Linked DNA regions of Homo sapiens: regions 1, 2 and 4 are each linked to region 3. The links are contacts of gene promoters, found by promoter capture Hi-C in blood cells and fetal thymus (Javierre and others, 2016). All regions are on one chromosome and are shown on one strand. Each heading gives the region's core, a stretch centred on a gene start or on the middle of the fragment in contact. The rest is flanking DNA. Distances are from core to core; before and after follow the strand shown.

Region 1 (2,700 bases), core at 71-2,570, 1.6 Mb before region 3:
CTTTTATTCCCATCGCTGGGCACGGCACTCCAACTGCCTCATTCCACTCATCCCATGGTAAAGCCCTATGATTACTAATTTATAAGGAAAAACGTGTTCAATTTATTGAGTGCTTACTATATGCTAGACTCAGTTCTGAGCACTCTTACCGATTGAACCCTCACAACCCCATGACCTAATTACTACAGCTAACCCTATTTCAAAGCTGTGAAAACTTAAATGGCCAAAATCCTAAGCTAGTGAAGTGACAGTGTTATGGGCTGCACTGTGTCTCCTCCTCCTCCCCAGTTCATATATTTAAGTCCTAACCCCCAGTACCTCAGACTGTGGCTGTATTTGGAGACAGGGTCTTTAAGGAGATAATTAAGATAAAATGAGGCCATCAGTATGGATCCTAATCCAATTTGACTGGTGTACTTATAAGAAGAGATTAGGATGCAAACAGGCACAGCAGGAAGATCATGTGAGGATCCAGGGAAAAGGCTACCACCTACAAGCCAAGAAGGGAGGTCTCAGAAGACACCAACCCTGTTAACACCCTGGTCTTGAACTTCCAGCCTCCATAACTCCCAGAGGACAAATTTCTGCTGGTTGGGCCACCCAGTCTCCGGTACTTCGGCATGGCAGCTCTAGCAAGCTAACACAGGCATAGTCAGGTGTCCACAGCAAACTTTTTGTTTTAGAAAACTTGTTATGCCAAATTACAAGCATATACCAAAGTAGACAAAATAGTACATCCATCAACTTCAATCCCATCAACTCATGGCCAATCTTGTTTGATTTCTCTTTCCACCACACTTCCGTCCAACTGGTTTATTTTGAAACATCCCCGGGCATCCTATCACTTCATCCGTGAATACGTCAGTAAAAATTCACAATTATTTCACTTTGATTGAAACTTACTGTATTCCTGTCCGTGAAAAGTGCTTAATGAGCAACGAATGAGTTGCCGCAAACAAAAACGCAGGGTACCGCTTGGCCTATCTTAATCAAGAACTCCTATAAGAATCATTATCATTCGGGCTTTTTTTTTTTCCCAATGCGGAAAGTGAGGCTAAGAAAGGAAAGGTCTGGACCAAAGTCCAACGTCCCTAGGGCCATCGCGCTGCGGGGTGGGCCTAGAACACAGTACCATGCAGCCCGCCGGTGGCTGGGGGAGGAGGGGCTGCAGGAGCCCCGCAGAGGGGTCCTCGCTACGCTTCCACTCTGGGCCCCTAGGCTACTCCGCAGTCTGAACGCGTTACCGGGTCGCATCAGGCCGGAGAAGGGTCCCTCCCGCTCGTCCGTGCGCTCACCTCCGCCGCCGCTCGGAACGCCTACATGTGCGCGCGGCAGGGCGGCCGCAAAGCACGCCGGCCGGGGATCTGGGGGCGGGGACTTCGGGAGGCGGAGCTCGCCGGCCCCGGATCTTGGGATGGGGACTTCAGGGGGCGGAGCTCGCCGGCCGGAGATCTCGGGGCGAGGATTTCAGGGAGGGGAGCTCGCTCGACGGGTCTGGGGGCGGGACTCTTGGGGGTGTGGCTGGGGGGGCCTCAAGGGGATGTCCGTGGGGGGCTCCGGCCGCCGCAGAGGCTCCTTCTCTAACTGTGCACCTTGGGGTGGGTCCGCTAGCACTTCCTCCTCTGCGTTGAAATGCGTCTTTGATTAATACAAAAATTAGCTGGGCGTGGTGGCGCACGCCTGTAGTCCCCAGCTGCTGGGGAGGCTGAGGCAGGAGAATCGCTTGAACCTGGGAGGCAGAGGTTGCAGTGAGCCGAGAATACGCCACTGCACTCCAACCTGGGCGACAGAGCGAGACTCCGTCACACACACACACACACACACACACCCCGGTGTCTTTGATCATGCCACACACACACACACACACACCCCGGTGTCTTTGATCATGCCACACACACACACACACACACACATACCCTGGTGTCTTTGATCATGACACACACACACACACACACCCACCCCGGTGTCTTTGATCATCACACACACACACACACACACACACACACATCCCGGTGTCTTTGATCATGCCGTTGAACCCCCGAAGGAACGGCAGCCCCGCGTGGGTCACCAGGCGGCCTATGGCAGGGCCCCCATCAGAACCCATGCCCATCTGACTGGCCGGCCCGTGTACTTCTCCGTCTGGAAGCGCTCACCCTTGGCGGGGAGCTCTGAGCTTTATGTTTATTACCATGTTCGCTGCCCCCCAAGCTCCTCCCAGGTGCTTCACACTGTACAGTCCACAGAGCAGCGTGCCATCTGTCATTTCTCCTTTCCAGCTGCTCTGTGAGGTAGATGAGGGATCATCTAATCTGTGCACCAAATCCAGCTCTCCACCTGCTTTTGTAAATAAAGTTTTCTTGGAACACAGCCATGCCCAATCCTTTACAGAGGGTGAAAACAGACTGCCTAGGGTTAAAGCCGGGCTCCACCCCTTACTAGCTGTGTGATAAAATGAGTTGGTGTATATGTAACCTGTGCCTCACGGTTTGTGCCGCCTAGCCATTAGCTATTATTATTAAAGTCTGTTCTGTTTCTGAGCCCCCCCCCCCAATTTTGGCTGCTCAGTTGTTTGTATGTAAATAGTGCAATGTGACCTCAGCCAAAGCCAGAATGTGGGACATTCTACAGGGCAAATGACGTGGTTTATCCAACAAATCAATGGCATAAACAGGGAAGGAGGGGGACTCAAAAGAAAAGAGA
Region 2 (2,809 bases), core at 253-2,752, 1.1 Mb before region 3:
TAAGCCCCCTTCAGGACACTAGTGACACCATCTACCCCACCCCGCCCACTTACCCATTAGACATTCACTAAGCACCTGCTCCTTGCCAGCCCCTCTGCAGGCCACCAGGGACAGAGATGAGTAAGACATAGTCTGGGTCCTCCAGGTGCCCCTAGCTGATTCAGTCAGCTTCGGATGGGACTTGGGGATCTATATTTTTAACAAGCCTTGCAGGTGACTGAGAGGACACACCCAGGTGAGACCCTTTGGTTTTGTGGACCTTCTGGCTCTCAGCACTGTATTCTTGGGGCTGCCAGAATCCCCGTGAGGACACAGCCTGTTTCGCCCCAGTGGTAGGTTCCTCTGGGCTCCAAGTCAGATAACTCTGGGTTCAAATTCTACTTCTGCAACTTCCTAGCTGTGTATCCTTGCAAAATACGTGGACTCTCTGAGGCTGTTTCCCCATTTTTAACAAGAGATAATGGTGCCTTCCTGTTGTGAGGATTAACTGGGATATTGTGCTCAAAGCCCTTAGCAAGATGCCTGGCACACATAAATGGGAATATCTGCTGTTAATTATATTATGGCTGCACTCTGATGGACAGAAATACCTCCCTGGGGGCATTTCCAGAATCCCCACTTCTGGAGCCCATCTCTGAGGTGGCCCTGGATATTTGGGAGGCCTCTCTGTGCCCTCTGCCAGGGCTCCAGCGGGACCTTCCTGCTTCTCCCCACGGATCCGGCTTTCTGGTCCCCAAACCGCATATTATCTGGGCACACCCTCCCCTTCATTTACCCAGAGTGACCAAAGTTCCAACCACACCTCTCCGGGCAGCCTGTCCCCAAATTTCGGGGAAGTGGGCAGGAGGGGGAGCTTTGCCGGGCAGGAGGGGGAACTTTGCCAGGCAAGGGCTCCGCGGGCAGAGGCGGGCACTGGTGAGGCCAGCCTCCTCCTGGGGACCAAGGTCGGGCGCCCCTGCCCAGCCCCTGCACCTGCCCCTGTCCCTGCCCTGTTCGGCTGCGAAGGGACTGGGAGGTCTGGCGAGGAAGAGCCTGGAAGATCCCCGCCCACAGCTACCAGCCCTCCTTTGGGACCGCTGGCCAGAGCCCCAGCCGTGGGGCACACGGGACCTGTGGACTCAGCCGGGGTCATCCGGAGGGGCGCCCACATCTGCACCCGGGGCTCCGGAGCCTGCTCCCCGCCACTGTCGCCGCCGGCCCTGCCTAACCTGCGCGGCGCAAGCGGCTTCCACGCCTAGGGAAGGAAGGCACACGGGGTGGGGGCCCCGGAACCCGGTTTCTCTGCCGCCGGGCGCACGTGGCTCGGTCCCAGGGGACAGAAGTCGCCTCCAGACGTGTGGCGGCACCCGAGGTCCGCGCAGCGACGGCGCAGGGTGCAACCGGGCGGGCGTCTCGGGGACCGGGCGCAGCACGCAGCCCCGCGGAGACCGGGGGAGGGTACACTCACCTCTGCGGCCCGCCGCTCGGAGCGACCGCGGCAGCTGAAGGTCCGCGGCGAAGGCGGTGGCTCGGCCCGAGGCTCCTCCTCCCCCGCGCCCCACCCGCCCGGGAGGGCCGGACCTGCAGGGGAGGTGGCCGCCCTCCAGCCCGCCGCAGCTTATCCGGCTCGGCCACCTCCCCCGGGGCCGCAATCAGGAGCCGCCGGGTCCTCGCTCCCCGCCCAGCCCTGCACAGCCCCGGCAGCGGTGGCAGCGTCCAACCACCCTCCTCCCCTGGCCCCAGGCGGGAGGTCGCCAGCCGGCGCCAACACTTCCTGATTTGCAGTGCCCGGCACACGGCTGAAGTGAGCAGAACTCCGGGACCTCCTCTTAACCCGGCCACGGAGGGCACCGAGGCCAGGGTGACCTCTAGGCCCCCCTCTCTTAACCTGAGGAGCACCTCGAATCCTTGTCCATTTTATAACCGAGGCCAAGTGGCAGCCACGGTTGCAGGTGGGAAGAGACCAGGGCTCCAGATTGGGTCCGGATCCCTTCCCTCTCAACAAGGTTGCGCCCAGGCCTTTGTGGTCCCCCCCCAATCTCTGTCCCTTGTCCACCCTTAGGGCAGACTTTTGACCCTTCCCAGCAGTCCTCAGGTTCCAAGACCGGTGGGATGGCGGGTACCTTTCTCCCGGAGCTGCCTCCCTGTCTAGGCCTTCTGGGCTCTGAAACCCTACCCGTCCCCCCTTCCCCCTGGGGCACTGCCCGCTGCCCTCCGCACTTCCAATGCCGATGGCTTCACAGCACTGCAGCGAAGCAGGGCGTAAGTAAGGGGAGGCTGTCTGTGGGCACCTCTCTAGAGGTGTGCGCCCTGGTCCGAAGCCCCTTCTCACCTGTGGTCACATTTGCCGGCTGCAGTTATTTTCTTTACAGGTGAGGAGACCCGGGCTTTTCCGCTCAGATTCGTGGAGGCTGAGTGGGGGTTCCTGACCCCTGGTACTCTTTCTAGAGTATTCCTGGGAGACATACACTATTAGCCTCTGATAAGGAGCTTCAGGTTATTTTTAGGAAGTCTAAGAATCCTGTTTTCTGGGGAGCCAGCCTCTGTTGGGGAGATAAGCCTCCGGAGGCCAGAGGCAGGAGCTGGGCCTCAAGGAAGGCCCCACAACTGGACCCCAAAGGGCACGGTGGGGAGGAAGAGGCAGAGCTCTGGTCTCCCTGTGGAGGGAGTGCTGCTGTAAAGCGCCTTTCCCTCCACCCCCAACTCCCGCCGAGAACCCCCCCACCCCCGCAGGCAGTTTGCTTTCCCCCTCCACAGCTTTCCTCCTACCCGAATACCCACCTCCCAGCTCTCTGCTCAGCCAGGGCCCAAGGCCAGAGCCTCTCTTCTC
Region 3 (2,881 bases), core at 179-2,678:
TTAAATGTCACATCTCAGTGCCTAAAAAAGTTACTCCATCGTTTCGAGATAAGTTTCTGAGAACAAAGAAAACTCTTTAAACTACTGAACTGCATTTTATTCTTTCCTTTTCCGTGTGACCATCTGCAAAAGCAACAGTTGTCAGTTAAACAGAATCAACCTCTTTCCCGAGTGGACATGATTCACAGCTTGGTCACTGTACAGCAGATGTGAACTGAGAACTACGACATAACACAATGACAAAACACAGTACTGAGCACAAAGTACAGGGAAAGAATGAAAGACAGAAAACAGGAAGAGCACACGTCTGATTTTTGTTTTCTTTGGGGCCCCCATTAGTAGCATTCCCTTCATCCATCTTCATTCAGTGGTTCACTATCAGGGCCAAACCCAAAAGTTACAAAACACCATCTAGCTACTGTCTGGCTGCTTTTATTTTTTCTGCACCAGGACGGGAGCACGCATTCCCCTGCAGTCCTCAGCTCCACCGCAATACTGATACCAAACAGTTTCAGTGGCCCAGCTGCCAAGCCTAACCATTCCTTTTTAAAGCATTTCTTCATCAATCCTACAAAACAGCAAGTTCTTCATGGTATATTTTCCTAGAGCATCTAGCTAATATCATACTTTAACAACTTTTTCCAACGTTAACTGGACATGGGTCATTATCACTTAAGTGTTAGCGCCATTGCCCGCGCCCACTCCCATAATCCACACTGCTTTCCTTCTCCATATTGCCAATCCCCACTAAGCAACCCTAAAATCTAGTAATTATCATCAAATCCACTTCTAGGCCCTGGCAAGAATTATTTGGCTTTACCGAAACACCTATTCCATAGGTAACCAATTCCAGTCAAAAATGCCAGAGTATTACTCCTCAACCCAATGCCCTATCTCCTTAGTGGATTATAAACTTACTACGACAACCTGTCTTCTTTGGATCCAATCCCCGCCCAAGTCTGAGTCTTCTCTCCCAGGCTACAAGCCCCCAAGTCCTGGCAGCTCTATGCTTGACAGCTCGCTGACCTCCACCTCATCAGACCATTGGGTCGCCCTTCTCGCCGTCCTCCAGCCTTCTTCCCGCTCAGACACTCATCCACTGTCCGGGGAGCCTCGACCCCTCCTATACCCCCTCCCCGATCCCGCAGTCCCCTTCTGGACCTTGCGGACCCCTCTCAGGTAAGCGGAGCCCCTTGCCCTGCAGGCCCATCAGTGGTCCTGGCTCCCCGCACCTGCCACCAGGGTTCCCAGGCTGCAAAAACACAAGTAGTTCTTCTTCCCAAGGGCCACCCTCCTCCTCAGGCCGCTTTCCTCAGCACCACGTCACCCGCGCTTCGCCGGGAGACCCCCAACTCACCCCCGCCTCCGCCATCTTCTGGGACCAGCCCCCGTACCCCCTACCGCCTCTTCCTCCTCCACTCCCACAACTCCGCCCGAGCTCCACTGCGCCTGTGCGGCCAACGAGGCCGCGCGCAGGCGATCGGGGCAGAAGAGCTTCCGGTTCCTGCTGTCAATAAGACGTGGACCTGCGAGCCGGGGCAAAAGGGCTTCCGGTCTGCGGGAAACTGGAGGCTAGCGGTGGGCGTGGACCGTCGAGGTGACTGGCGGTTGTCGGATCTGCTGTTGTTTGCTGACCAGGCAGCCGTAGGTAATGACGGATGCCCAGACCCTGTGGGCGGAGTAAAGGAATCATGCACTGATACACGCACACTCACCGAGGGGCGCGTCCGTCTGCGTGCCCCTCATCTCGTAGCCGAAAGGAGCGCGTTCCGGGGCAGGCCTCCGGGTACTTCCCGCAGAGGACCGGGCTTTATACTCTTTGCTCCTTTTCCTCCCCTAGTAAGTCATAACTTATTTTGGGAGAAGGGCATAGTTATTTGTCTCTCGTCTCCATGCTACAGCACTTTATGTGCTTTTCATTCAAAATCGTTCCTCGAGGACGACCAAGTAATGTGATTTGGGGGACAGTTTTCATAGGAAGGGCTTTATAAGTTTACACCAACATAAAGAAAACTTAAAAACCTTATAACCGCTTATTTTTCAGAAGTATTATTTTTCATTTAATCTAAAACCATACTTTTAGAACATGAAACCAAGCCAAACAGATCTTTGCAGATTGTGCAAGCGAACTTTTTTTTTTGAATGAAAGTGGTGCCATCAATGCAAAAGCAAGCCCATATAAGTGCCGAAAGGTACTCGTCATAAGGAGGAGTTGCTTCCCTATTCTGAATTTTTATTTATTTTTATTTATTTATTTATTTGAGACGGAGTCTCTCTCTGTCACCCAGGCTGGAGTGCACTGGCATGATCTCGGCTCACTGCAACCTCTGCCTCCCGGGTTCAAGTGATTCTTCTGCCTCAGCCTCCCCAGTAGCTGGGACTACAGGTACATGCCACCATGTCTGCCTACTTTTTGTATTTTTAGTAGAGATGGAGTTTCATCATATTGGCCAGGCTGGTCTCAAACTCCTGACCTCGTGATTCGCCCGCCTCATCCTCCCAAAGTGCTGGGATTACAGGCGTGAGCTGCCCCCTGAATTTGTTTTTTTTAAGCAACTCTTTTTAAAAAGAGAGAAAAAATAATCTCTCTTGAGTGTATTAGTTATTGAGCTATTCCATTTGGAGGTGGCTTAACCCAAAACGTGTATGGATGTGGTAAGATTACAATGGACTTGAATGTTCTAGATGAAATCTGGGCCGAGAGTAATTGCATAATAGTTTTCCAAAGGACTGTCAGATGGTAAACTCCTTTCATTTACTTTGAACTGATAAACGATAAGATGGATTTTTGTTTTTTGACCTTTTTATCTACATTTACTTCTGAAAATTGAAAAAGAATCTGAATTCCAACAAAATGTTTCTAGGCAAGTATTTGCATGAT
Region 4 (2,700 bases), core at 84-2,583, 1.3 Mb before region 3:
GGATTGAGGGCCTCCTCTGGGTGGGAGAGGGTAAGAATCCTACTGTGGCCTGATGACAGCCCAGTTACGGGGATGGAGAGGTGGGAAAGGTGGCACCCTTCGGGCAATGCAGCCCCTGAAGTGTGTCTGCCCCTCCCTGCCCCAACAGGGCAGCTAGAAAGATTCAGCAACACAAGAAGGGGAAGCCCCTCCAGTTCACTCATTCAATCGAAAACCATATATCCAGAGCTCTCACAAACGCAGGCATCAGGTCTGGAAATACAGCAGTGAAGAGGGCAGGCCAAGCCTTCGCCCCCAGTGGGGGTCCCCTCTGCGGGAGAAGCAGCGCGGCCAACTGCCTGGCCACCACCGGGCCAGGCACTAGGGAGTGGCCGGGGCTGCAGCGAAGCCCTGGCCTGAGGACAGACGGGGCACAGTATGCTGGAAACAGCTGAAAGGGGACAGGGCATGAGTGCCGCGGTGTCAGCGCCGGAGCCCGTTGGTCCCCTCCCTCCCCCTGGGGCCCGCGCGTTCAACACCGACCTCTGTCCCAGTGCCCGGATTGGCAGAGGCAGGCGGGAGGAGCCAGAGGTCGCCCCACATAGCTCGGTCTCAGACAAGGGTCTACACTGGAGAGAAGGGAGGGGCCCCTGGGTCACCTCTCCCCGGGCCGCGATTCTCCTCGTCCCGCACTCTGAGCAGCCGGCCCCGTACTTCCCCTGACCTCCAAGCTCTCGGCCACGGACTCCTCGCTTCCCCACTCCGCCGCGACGTCCTGCCCTGTGCTTCGGGATGGGGACTGAGTCTCCTCGCTCCTCCAATCCGTGCAACCCCTTCCCCCATCTCTCCATCAAGCACCCTCGACTCCCACCCCTCTCCCGCTACACAGCGAAGTCCACCCCATGGGCAACTTTCCGGCAGTTGCGGGGTGGGCAGCAGATTTAGAAATCCCCAAACGGAAAATCCCGCTCACAAGGCTCTGTCCAACGAATCAGGGCTAGGCATGGGCCCATGAGCAAGTGAGGGGCACGGAAGGAAAGAGCCCGAGAGCTTCTGGCAGCCGGCTGAGCCCCCAACGGGCCTCCCGCCCGCTGCACCTTCGCAGCCTGGCTGTGCACGCGCTGTACCTGAGACATCCTGGCCGACTTGCAAGAACTCCAGGGAGACAGCGGAGGAGGCGAGGACCAGGAAGCGATCGCCCAGATTGCACTGGCAAGCGCCTTTAGAGGCGCGGTCCACTCGCCCCAACCCTGCTCGGGCGAGCACCGGAAAGCCAATCAGAAGCCAGCTATGCGCTAGGGGCGTGCCCAGCCCCCGCCGCGGCGCTAGCCCCGCCCGAGCCCACGTGGGACCGCTTGCGCAAACGCCGGGAGTAGCCGAAGGGGACGCCGGGAACAGGTGGGGACAACGGAAGTAGGGTGCTTAGTTTTGCTGCCGGGAGTTGGTCGAGAGTTGGGTTCAGTCCTGGCCCGTTGTGGGGACGGCACGCGGGGGAAGGGGAGGGGACGGAGACCGAAGAACGGAGGTCCTTATGTTTCTTTTCTTTCCTTAAATCTTGCCCGGCCTGAAGAGGCCGGAAGTTGCATCTCTGGACAAGTAAACTCTGAGACCTGGGAATGGCGGGCGGGACCCGCTCCTCCCTTGGGGTCTAGAGGAGACCCCCGGAGATGGTCCCTGATGAGCAGCGTGATGGTGGAAAGCTGGACTGGTCTCCCGAAAGGCGAAGCCGAGGCTTCTTCCTCTGAACTTTTGGCACGTTCTTTGACTTGCTTGTGGCCGTAGTGTCAGGCCTGTATTGCACATTTATGTCTGTGGTGCATTTCTCCATCTGGTGCGTTAAAGGCAGGGACGGTGTCTTATTTGTCTTGATTTAACAAACTTGGACGGGACGAAGTGCTCAGCAAATATTTGTTAAATGAATGGCTGTTTATTGAACTCCTGTTGGGTAACTTGCACTGTTCTAGACCTTGGCAGACAGCAGTGAACAAAGCGGGTGAATCCCTGCAATCTTGGAACTTACAAGTAGGGACAGTAGTTTATACAATAAGTTAAATATAGAGTACTTTAGGGGCTTAGAGAGTTGGAAGTTTATAGTTTTAAATGGAGGAGGGGGAGTATTGAGGGAAGGTGACATTTGAGAAAGTTCCTCAAGGAGGGGAGGGAAGATTCCAAGCAGAGAACAAGTGTAAAGGCGTGGGCAAGGAACCAGGGGAAGAGTAGAAAGATGAGGCTGGAGAGTTTTGGCGGTGGCAGACTGGCTAGGTGATGCAGAAGTTGGCCATCACAGGGACTTTGACTGTCATGCTGAGTGAGATGGGAAATCGTAAAAGGGTTTGAAAAGAGGATGAGGAGACGGAGGGGAACGTCTTTGCGAGATTGTTACACAGCCTAATCTCCATGGGAACTGAAAGGAGCAGCACAGGTGTCTGGAAGTGTTTTAGGATCGATGTTTAAGAAGCTAAAGGAAGACTTCTCTGGCAGTGGTTGCAAAGGAGCTGGGTGAAGAGAGGGAAATGATGGAAAATTCTCTGGAGATCATTAAAAAAGCAAAGTCATTCCTCTCTAATTCATAATTTGTGGCAAGAGGGCTGGACTACAAATCTCTGCCCTGCCTACACCTTCCCCCTCCCCAGGGAAGGTAGACGCTTTCAGACTTAACTTGCTAACTTAATGTAGGTCACGTTTTATGGAATGTTTGGGAAGAAATGAAGATGCAATAGG

What was found. The method cuts DNA at HindIII sites, captures the fragments that hold promoters and counts their contacts. A CHiCAGO score of 5 or more calls a contact.
Region 1: a contact is called between the fragment with the promoter of TMEM177 here and the fragment with the promoter of INSIG2 in region 3, in 1 of 17 cell types (total CD8 T cells). The highest score is 5.2, in total CD8 T cells.
Region 2: a contact is called between the fragment with the promoter of STEAP3 here and the fragment with the promoter of INSIG2 in region 3, in 8 of 17 cell types (erythroblasts, total B cells, naive B cells and 5 more). The highest score is 10.8, in erythroblasts.
Region 4: a contact is called between the fragment with the promoter of C2orf76 here and the fragment with the promoter of INSIG2 in region 3, in 1 of 17 cell types (naive CD8 T cells). The highest score is 5.4, in naive CD8 T cells.

Annotation. Positions count from the first base shown.
Region 1 is chr2:119,677,821-119,680,520 of GRCh38, reverse strand. TMEM177 (transmembrane protein 177) reads right to left here and starts at 1,320. Exons shown (of 2, transcript NM_030577.3): 1 at 1,245-1,320. RefSeq lists a silencer at 1,244-1,473. The HindIII fragment of the contact is 6,463 bases long and covers 1-2,700 here.
Region 2 is chr2:119,222,527-119,225,335 of GRCh38, reverse strand. It overlaps STEAP3 (STEAP3 metalloreductase), which reads right to left and starts at 1,502. Exons shown (of 6, transcript NM_182915.3): 1 at 1,448-1,502. RefSeq lists silencers at 850-919, 980-1,759. The HindIII fragment of the contact is 5,957 bases long and covers 1-2,809 here.
Region 3 is chr2:118,087,018-118,089,898 of GRCh38, reverse strand. INSIG2 (insulin induced gene 2) reads right to left here and starts at 1,428. Exons shown (of 6, transcript NM_016133.4): 1 at 1,358-1,428. LOC107985940 (a long non-coding RNA gene) reads left to right here and starts at 1,468. Exons shown (of 3, transcript XR_001739662.3): 1 at 1,468-1,648. RefSeq lists enhancers at 1,474-1,663, 1,674-1,723. The HindIII fragment of the contact is 7,859 bases long and covers 1-2,881 here.
Region 4 is chr2:119,365,467-119,368,166 of GRCh38, reverse strand. It overlaps C2orf76 (chromosome 2 open reading frame 76), which reads left to right and starts at 1,333. Exons shown (of 6, transcript NM_001322331.2): 1 at 1,333-1,377. DBI (diazepam binding inhibitor, acyl-CoA binding protein) reads right to left here and starts at 1,190. Exons shown (of 4, transcript NM_001079862.4): 1 at 1,107-1,190. The coding sequence starts at 1,115. RefSeq lists enhancers at 70-269, 800-1,129, 1,500-1,759 and a silencer at 1,230-1,379. The HindIII fragment of the contact is 12,909 bases long and covers 1-2,700 here.